4 separate regions of the Homo sapiens genome follow, and all the other regions are linked to region 3. Evidence: promoter capture Hi-C in human tissues and cell types (Jung and others, 2019). All regions are on one chromosome and are shown on one strand. Each heading gives the region's core, a stretch centred on a gene start or on the middle of the fragment in contact. The rest is flanking DNA. Distances are from core to core; before and after follow the strand shown.

Evidence for each region. The method cuts DNA at HindIII sites, captures the fragments that hold promoters and counts their contacts. A contact is called where the count stands out against the background at its distance.
Region 1: a contact is called between a fragment that was not itself captured here and the fragment with the promoter of LRRTM1 in region 3, in 2 of the 25 tissues and cell types used here (heart right ventricle and hippocampus).
Region 2: a contact is called between a fragment that was not itself captured here and the fragment with the promoter of LRRTM1 in region 3, in 3 of the 25 tissues and cell types used here (H1 embryonic stem cells, hippocampus and thymus).
Region 4: a fragment that was not itself captured here is called in contact with the fragment with the promoter of LRRTM1 in region 3 in 2 of the 25 tissues and cell types used here (dorsolateral prefrontal cortex and liver).

What each region holds. Positions count from the first base shown.
Region 1 is chr2:80,032,832-80,036,423 of GRCh38, reverse strand. All of the region lies in intron 7 of CTNNA2 (catenin alpha 2), which reads right to left. Among named protein-coding and RNA genes, the nearest start is that of MIR8080, 170 kb to the right of the region's middle. The HindIII fragment of the contact is 3,939 bases long and covers 1-3,260 here.
Region 2 is chr2:79,932,444-79,936,269 of GRCh38, reverse strand. All of the region lies in intron 7 of CTNNA2 (catenin alpha 2), which reads right to left. Among named protein-coding and RNA genes, the nearest start is that of MIR8080, 68 kb to the right of the region's middle. The HindIII fragment of the contact is 3,809 bases long and covers 1-3,348 here.
Region 3 is chr2:80,303,412-80,306,886 of GRCh38, reverse strand. It overlaps LRRTM1 (leucine rich repeat transmembrane neuronal 1), which reads left to right and starts at 2,135. Exons shown (of 2, transcript NM_178839.5): 1 at 2,135-2,735; 2 at 3,009-3,475. The coding sequence starts at 3,068. The region is part of intron 7 of CTNNA2 (catenin alpha 2); the gene reads right to left. RefSeq lists an enhancer at 2,693-3,318. The HindIII fragment of the contact is 15,461 bases long and covers 1-3,475 here.
Region 4 is chr2:80,576,533-80,580,233 of GRCh38, reverse strand. The region is part of intron 13 of CTNNA2 (catenin alpha 2); the gene reads right to left. Among named protein-coding and RNA genes, the nearest start is that of LRRTM1, 270 kb to the right of the region's middle. The HindIII fragment of the contact is 4,187 bases long and covers 1-3,525 here.

The DNA.
Region 1 (3,592 bases), core at 42-2,541, 270 kb after region 3:
ATGGGGTATTGCTATGTTGCAGGGATGGTCTGGAACTCCTGGCCTCAAGCAATCTTCCCACCTTGGCCTCCCAAATTGCTGGGATAACAGGTGTGAGCAACTGCACCTGTCTGAGTGTCTTAACCTATACTTACAGTCTCCTAATCCTAGAAACTTTCCACACATTCTCTCTGTCTCTGACTCTCTCTTTCTTACTCTGTCTCTGGGTCTGCATTAATTTCACCTCCCTCTATCCCTTCTATCTTCTCTGTCGTCCCTGACATGCTCCAGTCTCTAGTAGATTATCGCACTGCTTCTATCCAGCACTCTGCTAGGGTTGGGTGACGCTGGTGGGGGTAGGAGGGGCCCCAGTTCCTCAAACCCTGATTTAGACCCAATCCTCAGAAAGCCCTGATGAGACCGTCATGTGGGACTGAATCAAAAGACTTGCTGTGGCTCATGTAGATTACATCTATTGCTTTTCTCCTATCTCTGTGACCTGTCATTCTGTCATAGGAGGAAATTGAATTGGCCCACACAGTTTTCTCTTTACAATACCATGCTGGTTGCTACCCAGTTCCTCAGGCTGCACTGAAAGATGGAAAATTGATTGCCAGATGTTGTTTTGGTGTCTTCCTAGGTACTGAAGGTGACTGATGATTCGATACAGGTGAAATTCACTTTATCCAGTTCCTGTTTCTCTGAGAACTTGTGCAAATCAAATTTCATACAAATTGAATTTTACTTCCTTCTTTTTTTTATTTTTTAAAGATACTTGATTTCAGATGGAGCCTTAATGGTCTGTATCTCTTAGCATTAGAGCTGTGATGCTGTCCCCTTTCAATCCTCAGGCACTCTGGGACTTCATGAGATATATATTTTTAAATGTACAAATACACTGGGTGAACTATAGCAAATAAATATTAGTAGGTGCTAGGCTGTCAGATTAGTTTCTAAAGTTTATAAGTTTATATAGAGAAGGCAGAGCCCCTTAGAGTAGTAACTGTCCTTTTTACAACAATTGTGAACCAAATACCTTGCTAAGTGCTTTGTAAATATTTTTCTCATTTAATCTTCCCAATTTTTTTTAGGTGGTAGTGATTATCTTCGTTTCTAGGTGATACCATTGAAGCCCAGACACAACATGTAACTTGCCCAAATTTACCCAGATGTAAGCGGTGGAGACAGGATTAGAAACCTGCAAGTATGAACATATGTTACTATTTTCCCTTTGTAACACAAAAGTCAACCTGCTACACACACTCCTCTTTATGTTGAATTGTTTCTGAACCGTATCCCTGGGAGATTTACCCAAAATAACACATAGGGAGGGGCCACATTCTTTTTCTCAATTACATAATGTTCATTTGTATGGATGGACCATACTTCATTTAACCAGTCCCCTAATGATGGACACTGGATTTTTCCCTAACCTTTTGCTATTTTTAAAAGAATGCCATAATGAAATTTTACGTATTATTTCACATAATATGAAGGATAAGTTCCAAGGACAGCATTTCTCTGTATTCTCAGAGCGGTATATGAATTTGAAATTTTGTAATTTTTGTAGTTGTTTCTAAACAGACTTCTTCTACAGGAGTTGTGCAGATTTATGCTCCCTTCCTCCCCCACTGCATTCTATGAGAATGTCCATTTCCTCACGCTCTCACCAACAGAATGTTTTATCAAATTGTGGATTTCAGCCAATTTGACAAGTGAAAAAGAAAAACCAAACTAACAGTATCTCAATGTATTTTAAATTTGCATTTATTTTATTAAGAATGAAGTTGAGGGTGGGCGTGGTGGCTCACACCTGTAATCCCAGCACTGTGGGAGGCAGAAGCGGGCGGATCACCTGAGGTCAGGAGTTTGAGATCAGCCTGGCCAAAATGGTGAAACCCTAACTCCAATAAAAATACAAAAATTAGCCAGGAGTGGTGGTGGTTGCCTGTAGTCCCAGCTACTTGGGAGGCTGAGGCAGGAGAATCGCTTGAACCTGGGAGGTGGAAGTTGCAGTGAGTCGAGATCATGCCACTGCAGTCCAGCTTGGGTGACAGAGCGAGACTCCGTATCAAAAAAAAAAAAAAAAAGAAAAAAAAATGAAATTCAGCATTTTTCATATGGTTAAGAACTGTTTGTACTTCCCTGTCAGTGATTATTTGTTTATATTCTTTTTCAGTTCTATTGAGTAGAAAATCTTTTTTCTTCATGATTTCCAAAATCTCTTTTTATAGGGATGTTTTACGGAAAATTAGGCCTGTTATATGAATTGCAGAAGCTTCTCCCAGTCAATCAGTGGTCTTTTGACATGTTCCCCCGTAGAGAAGGTTTTTATTTTCATATGGTTGGATTTATCCTTTCCTTTAATGATTAATGGATTTTCAGTCATATTTAAAAGCCGCCTCTCTACTTCAAGTTCATAAAGGAATTTGTCCATGTTTTCTTTCAGTGCTTTTTTTTTTTTTTTTTTTTACATTATAAGCTTTGATTTGTTTGTAATCTATGCTGGTGTGTGGCTCAAGATAACAATCCAACAGTAATTTTATGTTTTTGTTGCAGACTGCTACAATTTTTACTGAATGATCTATATTTTCCTCACTGCTTTAAGATGATACATTTTCATACACTGAATTTCCATATGCATTTAGATCAACTGTCCAGAATGTCCATTATTTTCCAGAGATCTCTTCATGTATTCATAGAAGCTTGCAGTGTATTCTCAATTTCTAACCATAGATACTTCATTAATCTTCTTATACGGTATTTGTTCATTCATTGTCTAATTTGCTGATTTTTGCATATAAACTTCAGAACTAATGTGTCTGATTCTACGAATTTGGTGAGTGTTTTTTGTTTTTGTTTTTGTTTTTCAGAGTCTCACTCTGTCATCCAGGCTGGTGTGCAGTGGCCTGATCACGGGTCACTCACTGCAGCCTCAACCTCCTGGGCTTCATTGATCCTCCCACCTCACAGCCTCCTGAGTAGCTGGGCCTACAGGTGCATGCCACCAAGCCTGGCTAATTTCTAATTTTTTTTGTGGAGACAGAGTCCACCATGTTGCCCAAGCTGGTCTTGAATTCCTAGGCTTGAGAGACACCTTCCTCAAACCCCATCATGGTCTCCCAAAGTGCTGGGATTACAGGTATGAACCACCATGCCCAGTATGGTGGTATTTTAACTGACACCATTTTACATATAGAAATTGACTTATGAATCTGTCATGTTTTTGCTAATGTGTTTTTGTGTTGTTGTTTTTTTGGGGGGTTTTTGTGTGTTTGTTTTTTTTTTTTTTTTTTGAGATGGAGTCCGCTCTGTCACCAGGCTGGAGTGCAATGGTGCGATCTCAGCTCACTGCAACCTCTGCCTCCCAGGTTCAAGCAATTCTCCTGCCACAGCCTCCTGAGTATCTGGGACTACAGGCGCCCACCACCATGCCCAGTTAATTTTTGTATTTTTGGTAGAGATGGGGTTTCACCATGCTGGCCAGGATGGTCTCGACCTCTTGACCTCGTGATCCGCCTGTCTCAGCCTCCCAAAGTGATAGGATTACAGGCATGAGCCACTGCGCCCGGTCGTTATCTTGTCCAAGCACATGGTGGTATGTCTTTCCATG
Region 2 (3,826 bases), core at 195-2,694, 370 kb after region 3:
ACTACAGAGAAAAAAAAAAAATCCCAGCATGAGAAAAAAAATAAAAAAAAACAAACTCAGAAATACTGAGGAAACGAGTACTGCCTCAGAAAGAAAAAAAAAATAGAATCAAACGAATATGGTTTTCTTCACATTTAGAATACACTAAATAGAGCACATTGTTCTTTTAAGCCTCTTTGACTCTGATGTCTTATTAGAAATCCTGTACCAAATAAGCATAAGCCTTTCATTTTAGTTATTATTAAATCTCTCTTCATTGCCATTCTATAACATCAGCATGCAGATTGCTCAATTACACGGGAAACGGTTGCAGCATGCAAGTCTGCCCTCTTCTGGTCATGTCCTTTGACAGTCCAAAGAACTGTGACTTGCATTTAATTTTGATTTCAACAACTGGGTAAATAAACCTAAAAAGGGAAAAAAATGCCACTCAAAAAGGAAATCTCTGCAAGGAAAAATAACACAAGGTGTATTATTTATTACTGCCAGGCCTCTGTCAACATTCTTTCGAAAATAATCAGCAAACCCCAAAACGTTTTAGAGGGACAATTTGTAAAAGGTAGTCATTTCTCCACCCCAGTTAGATTTATGCATTCATCTCATGTATAGTCTTCGTATAACTACAATGTGACACCAATTCTTCTATTTCAAAGATATTTGAAATGTAGAATTTCACTAGAGCATTGAACAAGGTGAGCCAGACTGGGCTGATCATGAGATCAACTAAATCCAGGGCACTAAAAATAAATGATAGCCTCTCTTTGTGAGGCTGCAGTGTAACAGGAGAGTGTGGGGTCAAAAATAGGGCAAAATGTTAACAGGCAAATCTGAGTAAAGCATATATCGTTCTTTGTACTTTTCTGCAACTTTTTGTAAATTTAAAATTATTTCCAAATAAAAAGTTAAAAAAAAAAAAAGAGAGAGAGAGAAAGAAGAAATACGGGCTCTGGGCAGACCAGTCTAAATTGTGGTTTTGCCTCCATGTGACTTTGGACAAGGCATTTAATTTTTTGGAGGCTCTGCCCCCTCATCTATAAAACAAAGACAATAGTGTTCTTCCCTAGTATGGCTGTCAGCAGAATCAAAAGAAGTAATAAGTGCAAAGCACCTAACACCACGGCTGGCAGAGAATAGCCTGTCAGTAATGTAGTCATTATTTTCATTGTTGTTATTATTCATTAGGGAGGAAGATGGGTGTCCGTCAAGGAGATAATGCTAACTCTGCTCCCCCTCTCTGGCAAACATCAAAAAAATATACCAACTTTAACTGTATAACTTGTTAAGGATCTATGCAACTGCAATCTCATCCAAATAACTATTGAGCCCTATTTATACATCCATTCTAAAATTCCTCTTAGCAAACTCATTCAAACTTCTACTTATCTTTGAAAGTAAAACCTTGGTGCATTTATTCTAAATCTATCTCTTTTCAGTAATGCTACCTACATTTGTAACATAAAATAGGATTTAAGCCATTGGGCTAGGTTCTTTCATTACACCAAAGGGTCCCATGTCTTTTTTGGGGGGAAATGAGGAAGAGCTCACCTTGTTCCCCTCTGTATATCACATCTGGTAGTGTCTAATCCTGAGCTGCAGAGCAAGGACACAGCTTTCATCACAGAAGAGGCAACCAGTCCCTTAAGCCACATACCCTCCCTACTTGGGATGCTCAAAGACTTCTGGGCTGGGACTTGCCTTTGGAATGATGTAAGGACAATGGGCTTAGAATACAAGGAAAGCTGAGTGTAAACTCAAGTCCCACCTGTAGTAGCTCTTCTGACCCCAATCATATTGACTTATTTGAGCCTCAATTTATTTATCTGTGAAATGGGAACAACCACTCAACAATTTTGTAGAGTTGCACAGTTAAAGATAACACATGATTTTAAAAGTAGGCAAATTATTATTGCTATTAGTGTTTGGCTGTTGCTGATATTATTAGATTGGTGCAAAAGTAATTGCTGTTTTTACAGTTACTTTTGCACCAGCCTAATATAGTTAAGTTCTGTAATCAGGCCAAATTGATTTTCATCTTCTTAATTCAAACACAAAGTCAGAGAAAATAGAATTTCTTTTTAAAATGTATTTGGATGATAGGCAAAATTAAAATAGTTCAAGAATGTTTTTCAGACCATATAGGCATATAATTTTAAAGCTCAACCTTAGAAATTATGTATCTCTGCTTTCTCATTTTATACATAAATAAAATATTCAAAGTTTATAGTTACAGCTTAGTGCCGACCTGAACCTAAAACATAGACCTCTTCTGTTTTCATTTTGGAATGGTTTCTATTACCTCATGGAACTTCCTTAAATTTTATATTTATTACTGATCTTTAAATGCTCCATATGCAATGTTATCTGGAGATGTGATCAAGCTGTCACAACTATTCAAAAAATGTTAAAAAACTAAAACCACACAAAGCATTAATGCAGGTAAATGAAGCACAGAAACATTTTAAGTGTGCTTAAAAGCATACAGGTGGTTAGACCATGTAAAGAATAGTAATTCCAGGGCTGGGTGCGATGGCTCATGCCTGTAATCCCAGCACTTTGGGAGGCCGAGGCAGGTGGATCACCTGAGGTCAGGAGTTCGAGACCAGCCTGGCCAACATGGTGAAACCCCGTCTCTACTAAAAATACAAAAATTAGTCAGGTGTGGTGGCAGGTGCCTGTAATCCTGGCTACTAGGGAGGCTGAGGCAGGAGAATGGCATGAACCCGGGACGCAGAGGTTGCAGTGAGCCGAGATCTTGCCATTGTACTCCAGCCTGGGCGACAGAGGAAGACTCCATCTCAAAAAAAAAAAAAAGAGAATACCAGAAGCCCAAAGATCTAGATTTGAATTTCAGCCTCTTTGTTTCACTAGGTCTAGTAGCTTAACTCTGTGAGATTCAATTTTCTCATTTAAAAAATGAAGATACAAATCCTAGCCGAACAGTGTTGTTAGAAAGGTTCAATATGATAGCCCGTAACATGGTGGGTACACAATAAATATCCAATAAATATAAGCTTCCTCTGCCCGCCCCTTTTTTATATTAAACCCATGAATCTATGACCTAAGAGAAAATGTCTACCCAATTTACACAGAGGTTGCTCAATAAATACCATTGTGATTATGGTGGTAGTGGTGATGTTAACACAGAAAACAAAAACCCTATAAAGCATGAAATGATAACTATAATTGTCCAAGATATCCACAAACAAAAATCTCCACTTAGAGCTAATCAAATATATATGCTAGAAATATTGACAACAGAGAGCTGACCTAAAATGACGTACGTACAGACAAAATAAATTAATGACTGGTGAAACACACACTTCAAAGATCACAGGGATCAACAGGATCAATGCACACTATTACAGTAGACACATTCAAAGTTCTTTTTCTGGGTATCAACAGGTGCCTGTCATGACCACGGCATGAAATACAAAGTGTGGTGGTAAAAATGCAAGGAAGAAGATGGGGTGGTTTGTCAAGTTTGTAACTCAATGTATGTGATGAAAAGTTTGAGGATCTAGTTTTTCAATATTCAATTAAAAATAGGCCTTGTTAAAATGTACAAAGTCTTGAGTACTCATAAACTAGCAGTTACATAAAATGTAAATCATACTTTATTTACACTTAATATTGGGAATTATTTTCATATTGTAAATTGAGTAGTTCATGGTGTACACACAGCAAGCTTACTTCAATAACTGGCTCACTTACATCATAAATTCAAGCTGAAACAGTATTTTCATTGATCTAGCATTAAGAAAACACCAAAAAAAGAAAAAAAAAAAAAGAATCTCACACACAAGTATCTCAGCATAGGTGGCTGAGA
Region 3 (3,475 bases), core at 886-3,385:
TGACATCCAAAGTGGGACCTCTTCTTGCCCATTTGGCAGCCTCTGTCACCACTTTGCCAAGCAGCCAGCATTAGGAGGATTTTTTTTTTTCCTAGCAACCCTAGGGATTGGGTGGTGTGTACTCACAGTACTCGCTGAATGGCTGGCCGCTGTTTAACCCTGCGGGTGCCTCCTCAACACCCCTCCCCCACCTCCCAACCCTTTAGAGTTTATGGCTCCATCAGCTGGCCTGCTGTCACGAATAATTGTCTTGGCAAGAGGTGAAACCACTTGATGGTGAATTTGTTTGTCTGTCTGTTAAAGTGTTCCGCAGCACCTTGGAGGTGCCAGGATGAAACATGCAAATGCCTGATCCAGAGTTAGGTAGGCAGCAAGAGTGACAGAGAGGCAATCATCAAGAATGGCAAATTAAGAAAGAAAGAAAGAGAGAGAGAGAAAGAAAGAAAGAAAGAAAGAAAGAAAGAAAGAAAGAAAGAAAGAAAGAAAAGAAAAGAAAAGAAAAGAAAAGAAAGAAAGAAAGAAAAAACCATCTGTGCCAGTTGCAAGCTGTATGACCTTGGATAAACCATGATGTCTCTTGGCCTCAGTTTAGTCACGTGCAAAATTAAGGGGGTTGATTTTCTAATGTCTCTTCTAACTCCTAAGACAGCATGTGATGTCTAGGACATTTCAGATTTGTGTTCCTTCCAATTAAATGATACATCTCAGAGATGAATGACCAGGGCAGAGCTCAGATGAATACAAAATGGAATGATTCATGCCCCTGTTCATATGACTTTTCCTGAAAAGTACCACCAGTCTTTGGTGACTTTGATTCCATTGGTTGGCCTCTTCAGCTTAGATGCTAAGGACCAATCCAGTTACTTGTCCAGTCTATCTACCCTGGCTCTGGTAATCCACCCTCATTCCTATCAAAGTAAGTGCCACTACATATAATGCCTACTGATTTTGACTTCCTTAGAGGCAGAAACGATGGGAATTCAAACAGTGGAGCTGGAGACTCACATTTGACTCTCCCTACCATCTCCCTGGGCATCTTTGTCAAGAAGGAAGGCTTGCCCACACTCACTTCCCGCAGGCTTTCTCAGCCATCTTGGAGGACTTTGTTTAAACAGATGACCAACTGACCCTCCCCAGGGCAGACCCTCTACAGACCAGTAGGCACAAGGTGTGTGTGTGGGGAGGTGGGGGGAGAGCTCATTGTAAGGACTCCTATCTATAAATGATTATGAATAGAAATAATGAGGCAAAGGCTTCTCGTCATACTCAGAGGAAAAAGTGGCACAACTTAGTGCAGTCTCAAAGATTAATTAGGATGTGTGTATGGAGACGGGTAGGCTTCATTATGGCTTAAACTATCACGTCCCTACACATTCACACTCTCTTGGAGTGGGGTGCACTGCAGGGCCCAGTAATCACCATGAACAGCACAAGTCAGGGTAAGCCCTCCCCATGTCAGACAGTACAATCGTTCTTTAATCCACTCTGTACCCCATATGTATCTGTGGAGCCTGATGAAGCCCCGGAGGGATCTCAGTCAAGTCTCCCTGCACACAGACATACCTTTTTGCCACACTGGATCTCACACCACCGGGACTTGGATGGCTTCCCAAACTAGGTGGGTTTGGAAAGCATTTCCCCTCTCCACCTCAAAAAAGGGCTGGCTGACTGCAGAATTCCAGTACCCGCAAGAGGGGGAAAAAACCCCAAAAATCTTAGCCAAGCCCCAAATCATTGCCTTCCTGTGTCTTCTCTCAAGTTGCTTTTCTAAAGCAAAGGTCCAAACGTTGATTTCTCTACAGATTCCTACGTATCTCTTACACGTAGACAGTTTTAAAGGGGAAAAGAATATATCCCCAAAAGGCAAGGGGGAGAGCACAGAACATTTCAGTTTCCCACTTGGAAATATCTTGTCGTGGATGATGCTACCCCTACCTCCACCTCCCTCCCCCCTCCTTTTTTTTTTTTTTTTTTTTTTTGAAATATGGACAAAAAAGCTGAAAGTGTTTTCCGTTTCATCAAAAAACATATATTACTTTAGTGGTTCGGTAAAATGTTGGTTTTATGCCCACCCCTTTTCAATCTGCCCATGTCTGAGGTGCTCGGGGAAGACGCACAATCGTGAGCAGCTTACGACACTCAGTGAGCAGTAGGTGCCTGTGCAAGCTCGCGCCGCACACTGCCTGGTGGAGGGAAGGAGCCCGGGCGCCGCTCGCCGCTCCCCGCGCCGCCGTCCGCACCTCCCCACCGCCCGCCGCCCGCCGCCCGCCGCCCGCAAAGCATGAGTGAGCCCGCTCTCTGCAGCTGCCCGGGGCGCGAATGGCAGGCTGTTTCCGCGGAGTAAAAGGTGGCGCCGGTCAGTGGTCGTTTCCAATGACGGACATTAACCAGACTGTCAGATCCTGGGGAGTCGCGAGCCCCGAGTTTGGAGTTTTTTCCCCCCACAACGTCACAGTCCGAACTGCAGAGGGAAAGGAAGGCGGCAGGAAGGCGAAGCTCGGGCTCCGGCACGTAGTTGGGAAACTTGCGGGTCCTAGAAGTCGCCTCCCCGCCTTGCCGGCCGCCCTTGCAGCCCCGAGCCGAGCAGCAAAGTGAGACATTGTGCGCCTGCCAGATCCGCCGGCCGCGGACCGGGGCTGCCTCGGAAACACAGAGGGGTCTTCTCTCGCCCTGCATATAATTAGCCTGCACACAAAGGGAGCAGCTGAATGGAGGTTGTCACTCTCTGGAAAAGGGTGGGTAAGACACTTTTTAATTAAATTCTTTCCCGAAGATTTTTTTTTTCCTCCCTTTTCTTTGCTGCAGCATCTAACATGGACCAAATCACCATCTCTTTGATCTTTCCGTGGCTGTGAACTTTCTATGCTGCCCAGCTTTCTGCATGCTTAGAGGTGAACGTGTGGTTTTTGGGGAGGGGGGTCCTTCTTTATTTCTATGTATTTATTTGATTTTTTGCCCTTTTCTCCCCCTCCCCCGCTTCCCCTCCCTCGGAATAAAATATGATGTAGATTTCTGACCGAGCGCTTCCAATGGACATTCTCCAGTCTCTCTGGAAAGATTCTCGCTAATGGATTTCCTGCTGCTCGGTCTCTGTCTATACTGGCTGCTGAGGAGGCCCTCGGGGGTGGTCTTGTGTCTGCTGGGGGCCTGCTTTCAGATGCTGCCCGCCGCCCCCAGCGGGTGCCCGCAGCTGTGCCGGTGCGAGGGGCGGCTGCTGTACTGCGAGGCGCTCAACCTCACCGAGGCGCCCCACAACCTGTCCGGCCTGCTGGGCTTGTCCCTGCGCTACAACAGCCTCTCGGAGCTGCGCGCCGGCCAGTTCACGGGGTTAATGCAGCTCACGTGGCTCTATCTGGATCACAATCACATCTGCTCCGTGCAGGGGGACGCCTTTCAGAAACTGCGCCGAGTTAAGGAACTCACGCTGAGTTCCAACCAGATCACCCAACTGCCCAACACCACCTTCCGGCCCATG
Region 4 (3,701 bases), core at 183-2,682, 270 kb before region 3:
TGTATGTGTCTGTCAACGTTTTTTCTAAGTGCTTTACAGGCACTAACTCACGCAGGTTTCTTAACACTCGTATGATGTAGACATTATTTTCTCCATTTTCCAGGTAGGAAAACTGAGGCATGAGACGTTATAGCTTGCTCTAAGGCTTTGCTAACTCTATGAGGTTAAATTCGAACGGTAGTAAGGATGGTGCACAAAAGTGAGTGAGTGAATCAGTGTGAGATTAGCCTGACAGGTGATGGTCTTCCACAGACTGCCTCTTGGCATACAGTAGGACCACATTCCAGGGCTTTGTCTTTCAAAAGAAAAGAGCAGACCACAAGGAATACCGATGATGTAGTTGCCCATTCCCCATCCAAAAGGGCACATTTTTATTCTGCTGGTTTCTTTGGCTACCACAGTGTAATTAATCAGGTGTGGTTATTGATGAAGGCTTGAGATTGGTCAGACAGGCATAAAATGGGGTCCTTCGTGCCAATAGCACGTTATGCCTAGTAATTTTCCAAGCTTTGGCATATCACTCTTGTTTTTCCTTCTCTCTCACCATCAACCTTATTAACATTCACTCAGTCATCTACAGATGTTTACTTTCATAGGAATATTAAAATAAGGAGAGAAGAAAGAGGTTTTGTTCTCATATTTTATTAACTAAAGCAGGGCTACAGTAGGCAGAGCCCAGTTCAAGTAACTGGTTGTATTTTTATTGTGGACAGAGACAATATTCTCTGATCATTTCTCCCTCTTTTGCAGTGTACTGTGGGACAATTATAGCAAGTTGGTAAATTCAGCTGACAGATGAGATGACAAGATTACAAGCGCTTTTTGTCATAAGTTCTTGAAAGAGAAAAAGTAAATCGAAAAATCTCATTCAACAAAAATAAGCAGAATATGACAGTTCTTATAGTACTGTGCCCAAACATTTCAGTGATCTGTGCATTCAGTAGATGAGTCAATGACAAACCCAACCTGGCAGCATAAGGCTAATAATGATGAGTTTTTATTCAAGAGACAATGGCCCAAGAACCAAAATAAAGAAAAACATTAAAATCAAAAGAGGTATTAACCTGGACGAGGACTCAGGGGACCTGCATGTTTTGACCTAACTCTGCCATTCACAAGCTATATGTCTTTGGCAAGTCACTTAGTTTCACTACTTCTGTGTCTCCCTGCTCATAAAACGGAGATTATAATTGCTATATGCACTTTCTGCCCCACAGGACTCCTAAGCTTAGATGTATAGGAAAATGCTTTAGGAACCATAAAAATTAACTAAATTCATAAATGATGGTGATAATTACTGTGCTTAATAATAAAATATAACACCTAATAACAACAACAGCAATAATAATGGCAATCATTGTTTACCACCCACTATGGGACAGGCATTCAGCTAAAGAATTTGATCCTTACAAAAACCTAATGAAATAAATGTAATCACCATTTTATAGGTGTGTGAACAGGCTCAGAACTGTTGAGTATATTTTCCAAAGCATCACACCTAGCAAGTGATGGAGGCGGGCAACAAGTTGACGGTTTCAGAGCCCATGATTTTAACCATCACAAATACCACCAGGCAAATAGATGAGCTTAAGCTATTTACATGTACCTTAAACACGCAACAAACCCATCCAGCCCATCCATATAAAAAGTTCTGTGCATGTGCAGTTTGCTAATTGCATGTGAGTGTGTCTCCTACTCGTGGCATTCTTTTTTGAATTACACATTTTTAAAACTATGAGTGCTATTTTTTAGTTGGTCAAAGACCTCCATGAATTAAAGGAAACATGGAAAATTACAGAGGGTCTGCAAATGGGCCCAGGAAGATTACGCTTCTATCATTAGATAGTGTTACAGGGTAAAGGAATAAATAAAATAAACAGTTCGCTGTACTGGAGGATAGAGACTGAGGGTGAAAGTTCTATGTGCTCTTTGGGAAGGCTTTTTTCAATAAACAGAAACTATTTAAAGTCTACTCCTAGTTTCGTGGTTCCACTATTTTATGTTTTGTTATGGAAGTGGGTCATATCTGTAAAATGGCACCAAGTATTCAGACTCCAGATTCTCTCCTAAAAGTCTATGAGATTAACTTGTGCCCATTACAGGGGCCCAGGGAGATCATGTGGCTTGACCAGGGTCATACCACATGTCAGTTGCAAAACAGGACCCGTTCACCTGCTGCTGGTGCTCTATTCCTCTGCAACAGCCTCTATAGAGAAACAAAGTGAGAAAGTATTGAAGGATTCAGTCATTTCACCTGGACATGTGAGTTGTTGAGTAAATTTTACAAATGAGTCCCGGTGAAATGACTCTGAATCCTTCAGTATTTTCTCATTTTTCATAAAATGTAATAAGAACCATTGAAAGAAACGGCCCAAATGTGTATGAGAATTTCACTGGGAGAAGGCTGAGAATATAGGTTGGCAGGAGAGCTTGAGAGATGCATGAGGTAGGATTTCCCAACAGAGCTCAACACCACTGGAATGGGCTGCAGACTAGAAAATCAAATTAGAGATCCAAAGGTAAAAACAAAACAACAACAACAACAAAATGAAAAAACTCCCTAGTCAGGAGTGATTGGCGACCAGCAAGTCTGGCCTGGCCTGGATTATTCTGGAGGTTCCTAACTGATCTTGCTTCTGCTCTTGCCCCATACATTCTGTTCTCACCAGCATGGCCATGGTGGTCCTTTTAAGGTCTAAGTCAGATCACACTATTCCCCTGCTCAGAACCCTCCAGTGGCTCCCAACTCATTCAATAAGGTCCTTAGGTCTCTAGGTCAAGTTCCTGGCTCCAACCTTTGCACTTGACATTTCCTCCGCCGGAAACATGCTCCACCTGAGTACCGTTAGGGCTTATTTCTTCTTCCTTCTCCCAGTATCTTCTCAAATGCCACCCAGGTACCTCCTTTCATGAGATCCATGCCCACCAGAAGCTCTATCCCCTTTAGGATACTTTGGTTTTCTCTGTGGCATAATGTTTGACATTATATTTCCTTGTTTATTCTCTGTCTCCTACCAGAGGAATAGAAATCCTGTGAGGGTAGAGACTTTTGTCTGCTTTGTTCATCCTGTATTCAGGGCAACTCCAAAAGTTTGGACATCTAATAAGCTTTCAGCAAATAAATGAATAACCAAGACAGAATTACCAATTTTTAATCATACTGAACTATTTCTAATTAATAAAACTAGACACCTTAAGAGGCCACGTTGATTAACATATTTCATACAGAATTCAAGAGATGTCTATGTGCTACCCTTGAAATTTTAAAATATCTGGCAATGCTCCAGGGCACCTTGATACACAGTTTGGGAGACGTGAAGTTAAACTGTAACCTCCGCCTCCCAGGTTCAAGCAATTCTCCTCCCACAGCCTCCCAAGTAGCTAGGATTACAGATGCACGCCAACATGCCTGGCTGATTTTTGTATTTTTTTTTTTTTTTTTTTTTCAGTAGAGACAGGGTTTCACCATGTTGGCCAGGCTGGTCTTAAACTCCCGACCTCAGGTGATCCACCTGCCTCGGCTCCCCCAAAAAACAATACATATTAAAGAAGGTGTCTTTGAACACAAACTCACATAAAACAAGGTTAAGTATTGATCAGTTGATAAAAGTGTGGCCAGAAGCTCACAGTAACCTAACCCTGTATTTCTCCTAGAAGCAATGATTCAAGATTCACAAATTTCGTGTTCACAGTGAATTTGT